3 separate regions of the Homo sapiens genome follow, and all the other regions are linked to region 3. Evidence: promoter capture Hi-C in human tissues and cell types (Jung and others, 2019). All regions are on one chromosome and are shown on one strand. Each heading gives the region's core, a stretch centred on a gene start or on the middle of the fragment in contact. The rest is flanking DNA. Distances are from core to core; before and after follow the strand shown. Region 1 has its middle 140 kb from the start of TEX29. Region 2 has its middle 89 kb from the start of LINC02337. Region 3 holds the start of SOX1 (SRY-box transcription factor 1).

Region 1 (2,700 bases), core at 17-2,516, 610 kb after region 3:
GGGTGCACTTCAAGGTACAGTCAGCAGTTACACAGAGACAGAGGCAAGAGCCCTTTCTGCCCCATGAAACCAGGGTCACTGGGGGTAGACAAGCGGGACATCAACTGTTGCTTAAATTGTTGACTTTTCATTTGTGAGCTCAGGGGACAATATCCTCTCGTTTATCATTTGGTGGAATCCACGATGCATTTGTAAGTTGCATGCAGTCATTTGCTGCATCCCAGCGCCAGGCTGGTGGAAATGGGGGAATGGCAGCACGTGCCAGACACCCCAGGCCAGCGTCCGGGATGAAGCCTGCTCTCAGGGAGCATGGCTCCCTCCTGTGGGTCCCCCTCACCATATGGCAAAAGCTTCCTGGGCGGCTTCTTCCACACTCGCTGGAGGTTCTGCAAGGGAGGCTTTGCCCACATTGCGGTCACCATTGAAAGAAGGCCTCCAGGCACAAGTCTCATCAAAGGCTTCCATACACAAAGGTCTCCATTTTGCATCCTGTATTCCCCTCTTGAGAGGAAATCAAATTATTTCACCGTTTCTTGCATGTAGGTTCAAAGACTGGTGCCTGACATTCCAGAGCCTCCCTTGGTGCAACTCAGCTTCAGGCACGTGGTACCTCTTGGCACCAAAAATGAAGGAAGCCTCCACAGAAATGGGTGGAAGTGGAGATGTCGCAACACACTTAGGCACGACACTGCTGAGACAGGCACACAGTGACAGCGATAAAGGGAAAGACACCAACATAAAAGAGTGTATATGGCAGTGGCTCACCCAGAGCCCACCAGGAAGGAGGCGGCAAAGAACAGAACTGCCAACAGCCGAACAAGGAGGTGTCGGCCGTGCTGGGTCGTTTCTGTAACTCATTTAACAGCCTTTGCTACGCGTCAGAAACACCTCGGAGGGCCCTCAATAAATGCTTCCTGGATGAAGATGGCCTCCATGCAAAAGCTCAATCATGCAACTACATTTTTAAAACCCAGATGCATTTCAAAAAAATGAAATTTCAACACTGAACTACATGTGCTTCTGGTAATCATGTCTTGTTCCAAATACTGTGAAAGCATTGAAAAGTTTCAGCCTCAAACAAATAGTATTGAATGACCTTTGAGGATCAAAACATGAGTGCCTTTCTGCTCCACCATAATCTGTACAGGAGAAACTACAAGTTTCTGTACTGGATGTACAGTAATCTAAATATTTTGATGGGGTGGGGAAGGAAAGTGAAAGAAAAGTACCCTTTATTGAGTGCACCTGATACATCAGGCCCTGCTCTAGATGCATTAAATACATTGTCTCACTAAGGTTCTGCCTGAGGCATTTCTCTAGCGTTTTTTGGGGGAAATGGAAGAATATATTTTTATTGAAATATAATTGGCATACAATAAATGGCATTTACTTAAATTGTGTGATTTGAGGTTTGACATAAACATATGCCTACGAAACCATCACCACAATCAAGATAGCGAACACGTCCATCAGCCCAAGCTTCCTCATGCTCCTTCATCATCCTTCCCTCTCTCCCTCCCATAGGCCCCTGCCCTACTTTGTCACTGTAGATTAGTTTACATTTTCTAGAATTTTATATAAATGAAAGAATAAAGGATGCATCCTTTTGCCTGACTTTTGCTCAGCATGATTATTCTGAAATTCATCCATGTTGTTGTAAGTATCAATATTTATTCCTTTACATTCCTAAGTAGTATTCTATTGTACATGTATTAGTCTGCTTTGTGTTGCTATAAAGGAATACCTGAGGCTGGGTAATTTATAAAGAAAACAGGTGTAATTGGTTCACAGTACTGCAGGCTGCACAAGCTTGGCACCAGCATCTTCCCGGCTTCTTGAGGAAGTCTTAGGAAGCTTCCAATCATGGCAGAAGGCAAAGAGGGAACAGGTGTGTCACATGGCAAAAGAAGGAGCATGAGAGACGGGGGAGGAGGTGACAGACTCCTTTTAACAGCCAGCTCTCCTGTGAACTAATAGAGTGAGAACTCACTCATTACCATGGGAAGGGCATCAAGCCACTCATAAGTGATCCACAACCATGACCCGAACACTTCCCAGTAGGACCCACCTCCAACATTGAAGATTACATTTCAACATGAGGGGTGCTTGAATTGTTTCACTTTGGGCTATTACAAATACTGAGCATTTGGCTGGGTGTGGTTGCCCACATCTGTAATCCCAGCACTTTGGGAGACCAAGGTGGGTAGATCACCTGAGGACAGGAGTTCAAGACCAGCCTGGTCAACATGGTGAAACCCCCACCTCTACTAAAAATATAAAAATTAACCAGGCGTGGTGGTGGGCACCTGTAATCTCAGCTACTCAGGAGGCTGAGGCAGGAGAATTGCTTGAACCCAGGGGGTAGAAGTTGCAGTGAGCAGAGATCATGCCATTGCACTCCAGCCTGGGTGACAAGAGTGAAACTCCATCACAAAAAAAGAAAAAAAATGCTAAGCATCCATGTACAAGTCTTTGTTTGGACATACAAGGTTTTTTTTGTTGTTGTTGTTTTGTTTTTGAGTAAATACCCATAGGTGGAATGGCAACCTTATGGTAGGTGTATGTCTAACCACTTAGGAAACCACCAGCTCCTCATCTGCATATCTTCTTTAAGAGTCCCTTTGATAGTCTAAATACATGTTCTTTATTAGACACATGGTTTTCTCCTAGTCTGTGCCCTGACTTTTCATTCTCCAAAAA
Region 2 (2,700 bases), core at 62-2,561, 560 kb after region 3:
TCTTGATGGACCAAGCTTTTGTTGTGGGTCGGGGCAAACCAAGAACATAAAATGAGCAAAATTGACAAATAAGGAATTCAGCCCCCGAAGGTGCAGTGAATCTCTTGATACCATCAGTAGTTAACCAGAGACCTGAGCACCGAGGCTGGGGGGCAGGTCAAATGACTGGGGAAGTCAATGAAAAGTGGTTTCCGTTATTTATTTTGCCATATTTTTTCCCATTGTGAATAATGTCACCTTGTATTGTATGAAAATAAAAGCACAGAATTTCCTCAAACAAAGGCTGCTGGTGGTCTTTCCAGGAGGAGGGATCCACGCTGTGGAGCCTATGCCCACATTCACTCACCCAGCCACCAGCACCCCCATTCACTCACCCAGCCACCAGCACCCCCGTTCACTCACCCAGCCACCAGCACCCCCGTTCACTCACCCAGCCACCAGCACCCCCGTTCACTCACCCAGCCACCAGCACCCCCGTTCACTCACCCAGCCACCAGCACCCCCGTTCACTCACCCAGCCACCAGCACCCCCGTTCACTCACCCAGCCACCAGCACCCCCGTTCACTCACCCAGCCACCAGCACCCCCGTTCACTCACCCAGCCACCAGCATGGGGTTGTTCATGGTTTCAGCATCTGCAGAAAGGGGCTGTGCTCAGGGAGATGAGGAGCCCCACAGTCCATCCCAAACAAAGGCCTAGGACATTAGGCTCAGAAGGGAAGTGAGGGTGAGGGTGGAGGCTGAGGCTGGAGGGATGAGGTGAAACTGGCAGTTAAAATGGGTTTACAGATGGGTTGTCCCTAAGCCACCCATGCTGCCTGATTTTCTTGCCATGAATCCAGCCAACACATATTTATTTGTTGGGGTCACAAAAGTTCAGGCCTCATTTTTGTCTCTTAAGTGTCTTGCAGTTGAGCAGGGAAGCTGACTAAGTATAGCAGCTATGGCAGCGCAAAAAGTAAGAGATTCTGGGACCGAGGTACAGGATGTGATAGAAACTTGGACAAAGCGCACACGCGCAGTGCAGGCTGTCCCTGGGGGGACATTCGCATGGAGGCTTGGGTGAAGGGCACACATGCAGCCTGGGCTGTCCCTAGGGGGACACTTGCTTGAAGGCTTGGAAGGGCAAGCAGAGGCCGTCAGGTTAGTGGGGGTGCTGCTGGCACCTGATGGCAGGGCAGCACCTGTGAAGGGTTGGAGAAGAGGCAGATGGTGCCCTCAGGGGCCCACTGGGCACTCAGACATCCATCCACTCTCGCTCACAGCAGTGATGCTCACAGCTGCCCAGAGAAGGATACAACGCAACCATCCGTGGAGGAGGGGATGGGCAAAACATGCTCCATCCACACACTGGAGTCCTCCTCAGCCCCAAAGAGGAAGGGAGACAGGCAATATATGCTCCATCCACACACTGGAGTGGCGGAGACCGAGTTGAGAAGGTCACAGAGCTCCTTCCTTGTGTTTGAAATGAGCGTTACTTGCCAAAGGTAGGTGGGACGGGGAGCAACATGGCCACATTTGTGTTTTCACCGAGTGGCTCTGACTCCTGGTGGAGGACTTGCTGCAGCGGCCCAGCCTCCCAGGTGCTGTCAGAGATGGGGATCCCCCGAATTGTGCAGTGGAGTCCTTGAGGAGGGCAATGGTGCAGGGATGGAGGGGTCACCCAGATTCCAAATACAAATACAACACTCTCATCAAGAGCTGCCTATGTGCCGGGCACTGCATCCTCCCCGGACAGCATGTGTGCCCTAGAGACAGATGAGGACAAGGGTTCAGTGCAGGTCACAGCTGCATGTGCTCATGGAGGCAGCACCAGCAGCCACCTACACCCCCAGGCAGCAGATGCCCTGAGGCCTTCAGCTCTCCAGATGCAAAGGCAGGAGGGGATCCGCCTTCCAGGGCCACAGCTCCACGCCCTGAGCTCAGAGACTACAGAGGCATGGTTTATTTCTGATTGCGTATTTTGTTTTCATTGACCTCTGTAATATATATATATATATATATTTTTTTTTTTCCCTGAGACAGAGTCTCGCTCTGTTGCCCAGGCTGGAGTGCAGTGGCACGATCTCCACTCACTGCAACCTCCACCTCCTGGGTTCAAGCGATTCTCTTGCCTCAGCCTGCTGAGTGGCAGTGATTACAGGAGCATGCCACCATACCTGGCTAATTTTTGGATTTTTTTAGTAGAGACAGGGTTTTGCCATGTTGGCCAGGCTGGTCTCGAACTCCTGGCCTCAAGTGACCTGCCTGCTTTGGCCTCCCAAAGTTCTGGGATTTTTTTCAATATTTTTCAAAGTAATCTGAGAGCCTGTAGGACAATGATGCATTCTAGTTCACCATAGTCTTCAATAGTTTCTGTTGGCATTCATCAAGAATAAAAACCTAGGAGAGGCAATGATCTGATGTTTTAATCCCAACGTTCTATAGGGGAGGGGAACAAGACAGGAAGATGAGCTGACGAGAAGCTCCCTAGGGGCGTGCAGTGCTGGGAGGCCACGACATCGGTGTGCATGTCCTCAGCGTTCTCAATGATCCTCTTCGCCGCAAAGGCAAAGAAGAAACGGGACAGCCTCCCCACCACTGCCCAAACACAGAAGGCTTCATGGGTGTATGCGTGGACTTTGCAAGGTGCCAGGAGAGCCACACCCAAAGATAAAAGAGTCCGACTTCTGACGTCTCCCAGATGTAGGGACCCTCGAG
Region 3 (2,700 bases), core at 21-2,520:
GCGCGCCCATGTCGTAGCGGTGCATGGGCTGCGGGTTGTGCGGGTGCGCGTGCGGGTGGTGCGGGTGCGGGTGCGCGGGGTGCGCGTGCGGGTGCGCGCCGCCCGCGCCCGGGTGCTGCCCGTAGGCCAGCTGCGCCTCCTGCATCATGGCCGCGGCCGCCGCCGCCGCCGCCACCGAGCCGGGGTAGGCGCCGTTGGCCCAGCCGTTGACGTGCGCGTAGCCGCCGCCCGCCGCGCCGCCTGGGCTCTCCAGGCGCTGGCCCACGGCCGCCGCGCCCACGCCCACGCCCACGCCCATGGCCACAGCCGCGCCGCCGCCACCCGCGCCGGCCGCCAGGAGCCCGCCGGCCAGCGAGTACTTGTCCTTCTTGAGCAGCGTCTTGGTCTTGCGGCGCGGCCGGTACTTGTAATCCGGGTGCTCCTTCATGTGCAGCGCGCGCAGCCGCTTGGCCTCGTCGATGAACGGCCGCTTCTCGGCCTCGGACATGACCTTCCACTCGGCCCCCAGGCGCTTGCTGATCTCCGAGTTGTGCATCTTGGGGTTCTCCTGGGCCATCTTGCGCCGCTGCCCGCGGGACCACACCATGAAGGCGTTCATGGGCCGTTTGACCCGGTCCTGGTTGGCCTTGGCGCCCCCGCCGCCGCCGCCGCCCCCGCCTCCGCCCCCGCCGCCGCCCGCCCCGGCGGGGCCCGAGAGGTTCGTGGGGGCCTGGGCGCCGCCGGGCGAGTGCAGGTCGGTCTCCATCATCATGCTGTACATCGGGGCGGCTGGCGGGTTCACCGGCACCGCGAGGAGAGGGCCTGGAGCATAGACGGCCGGGGTGGGAGGGAGACGGAGAGGAATTCAGACGGAGTGAGACGGGGGCGGGGGGGTCCTAGCGGAGAGAAGAATGGGGAGGGGTGGAGGCAACGACAACAAAAAAAGGCAGAAACACACGCACTCGGCGCCGGTTCGGCTCGCAGGTGGAAAGTTTCTCCTGATGCACAAACCACTTGCCAAAGAGGCCGACGGTCGGGGTCGCCGTCTTCGCCGCCACCGCAGCCCAGGCGCCCTCGGCGGAGCGGTGCAAACAGGTGCAGTCGTGGCCAAGTTGCAGCTCCGCTTTTGGGGCCGGGAGCGGTGCGCTGGGCCCGGCCCGGGGTGTGCTGTCTCCTCGCCGGCCGCCGCTGCGCGCTGTCTCCTTCCTCCTGCGCTCGGTCCTCAGCGGCCTCCAACTCGGAGGCTGCAACTTCTAGCAGGGCGGCGCGCCGCGTGCGCTGGGCATGTGCTGGTCCCAGGTGCCCGGGGGAAGCCAGGCGCCAGTGGCGGGGGGGGGGAGGCGCAGGGGGGCCTGCAGGGGGCGATTACGGTGCAGCCAGGGAGGGGCCCGGGGACAGCGGGAGGAGCGCGGGCTCGCGGAGAGGGCCGGAGAGCCGGGGCCGCCGAGCCCGGGATGGGCTGCCCGCTGCCTGCCCGGGGCCGTGCGCTCGGAGCGGAGGCGCACGCGGGGCCGGCGGCGCGCGGGGCCCAGCAGCCATACGCCGGGCCCGGGCTGCCATTAAATGAGCGCGCCGCGGCCAATGGGAGCCGGCGGCGGCGGTGATTTGCATGGCGCGCTGGCGAGTGACGTGGGGAGGGAGTAGATACACTGGGCGCGGGCGGCGGAGCGGGGAGGAGGGGAGGAAGGAGGGGGAGCAAAGCAGGAAGGAGGGGGGAGGAGGCCCGGGAGGGGGTGACAGCCACACCGCTTCCTGAGCGCGCGCGCGCGGCGGCGGCGGCGGCGGCGAACCCCGAGCTCGCCCTCCTCGCCGCTCCCCGCCCGCGCGTTCCGAATGATTAACGATTGGGTTGAAAAGCGAAGACTAAGAAAGGATCGTCGTGGGGTGGGGGGAGGAAACGCAGCCCCTGGCCAGGTTTAAACGGGCGCAGTGGAGACCCAGCTCCTCCTCTGCCCCCGCCGGCCAACTCTGTGCCTGCAGGGAAGGGGAAAGTTGAGTGCGGGGCTGGCACGTCGCCCTCAGTTCCCCCGAGTGCTGAAAAGGAGGGGCGCTCCCTTGGACGCAGGGGATACCCTCCGAGGGCCCCTGCAGGTTCTCTGCAAGGATCAGGCGGCTCAGCCATCCCCCGCCCTGCATCCGTTCTCGGCCGCGGCGTGCACTGAAGTTCGCCAGTGCCCGCTCTTGCAGCGAAGGCCTTCACAGTCCAGGCCCCACAATTCGGGTAAAGGGGGAGTATTTGTGTGGGCATGGCTCCATAGCTTCGTTTAGTATCAGCCCTAAACTTTTGTGGGGAGGAGTCTTTCAATGAGCCCGGGGCCATAGTCACGCACTCTTCCCAACCCGGATCTTCTTCCTCTGGAAAAGGAATTTCTAGGAAGGCCGAACACAACAAGATCTATCTGGAATCTAGTTCCTGAACAACAGTTGAAAAAGTTTGTTGAATCGCAAAATAATGATATGGCGCACGCTTTTCTGGAGTGAATTTCCCACGAGCTGGTTGCCTAAGAACGGAGAAAACTGCGTGAACTGCGCGGGGCCACATAAACCGAATGAAAGGCGGGGCCTCAGGACGGGTCTCAGCCGCCGGTCTGCGTCATGCAAAGGAAAGGCCTGGCTCGTGGAAAGAGTAAGGCATTCACCTGTGGTTATCATTCTTAAACCTCAAAGTGGCTTTGATTTGGGAACGTGAAAGAGATTTTCAAACGCAGTCTCAAGTAGCAT

Evidence for each region. The method cuts DNA at HindIII sites, captures the fragments that hold promoters and counts their contacts. A contact is called where the count stands out against the background at its distance.
Region 1: a contact is called between a fragment that was not itself captured here and the fragment with the promoter of SOX1 in region 3, in 2 of the 25 tissues and cell types used here (IMR-90 fibroblasts and dorsolateral prefrontal cortex).
Region 2: a contact is called between a fragment that was not itself captured here and the fragment with the promoter of SOX1 in region 3, in 2 of the 25 tissues and cell types used here (dorsolateral prefrontal cortex and thymus).

Annotation. Positions count from the first base shown.
Region 1 is chr13:111,454,612-111,457,311 of GRCh38, reverse strand. No RefSeq gene overlaps it. Among named protein-coding and RNA genes, the nearest start is that of TEX29, 140 kb to the right of the region's middle. The HindIII fragment of the contact is 4,337 bases long and covers 1-2,700 here.
Region 2 is chr13:111,505,413-111,508,112 of GRCh38, reverse strand. No RefSeq gene overlaps it. Among named protein-coding and RNA genes, the nearest start is that of LINC02337, 89 kb to the left of the region's middle. The HindIII fragment of the contact is 4,579 bases long and covers 1-2,700 here.
Region 3 is chr13:112,065,719-112,068,418 of GRCh38, reverse strand. SOX1 (SRY-box transcription factor 1) reads right to left here and starts at 1,270. Exons shown (of 1, transcript NM_005986.3): 1 at 1-1,270. The coding sequence starts at 760. All of the region lies in intron 1 of SOX1-OT (SOX1 overlapping transcript), which reads right to left. The HindIII fragment of the contact is 28,986 bases long and covers 1-2,700 here.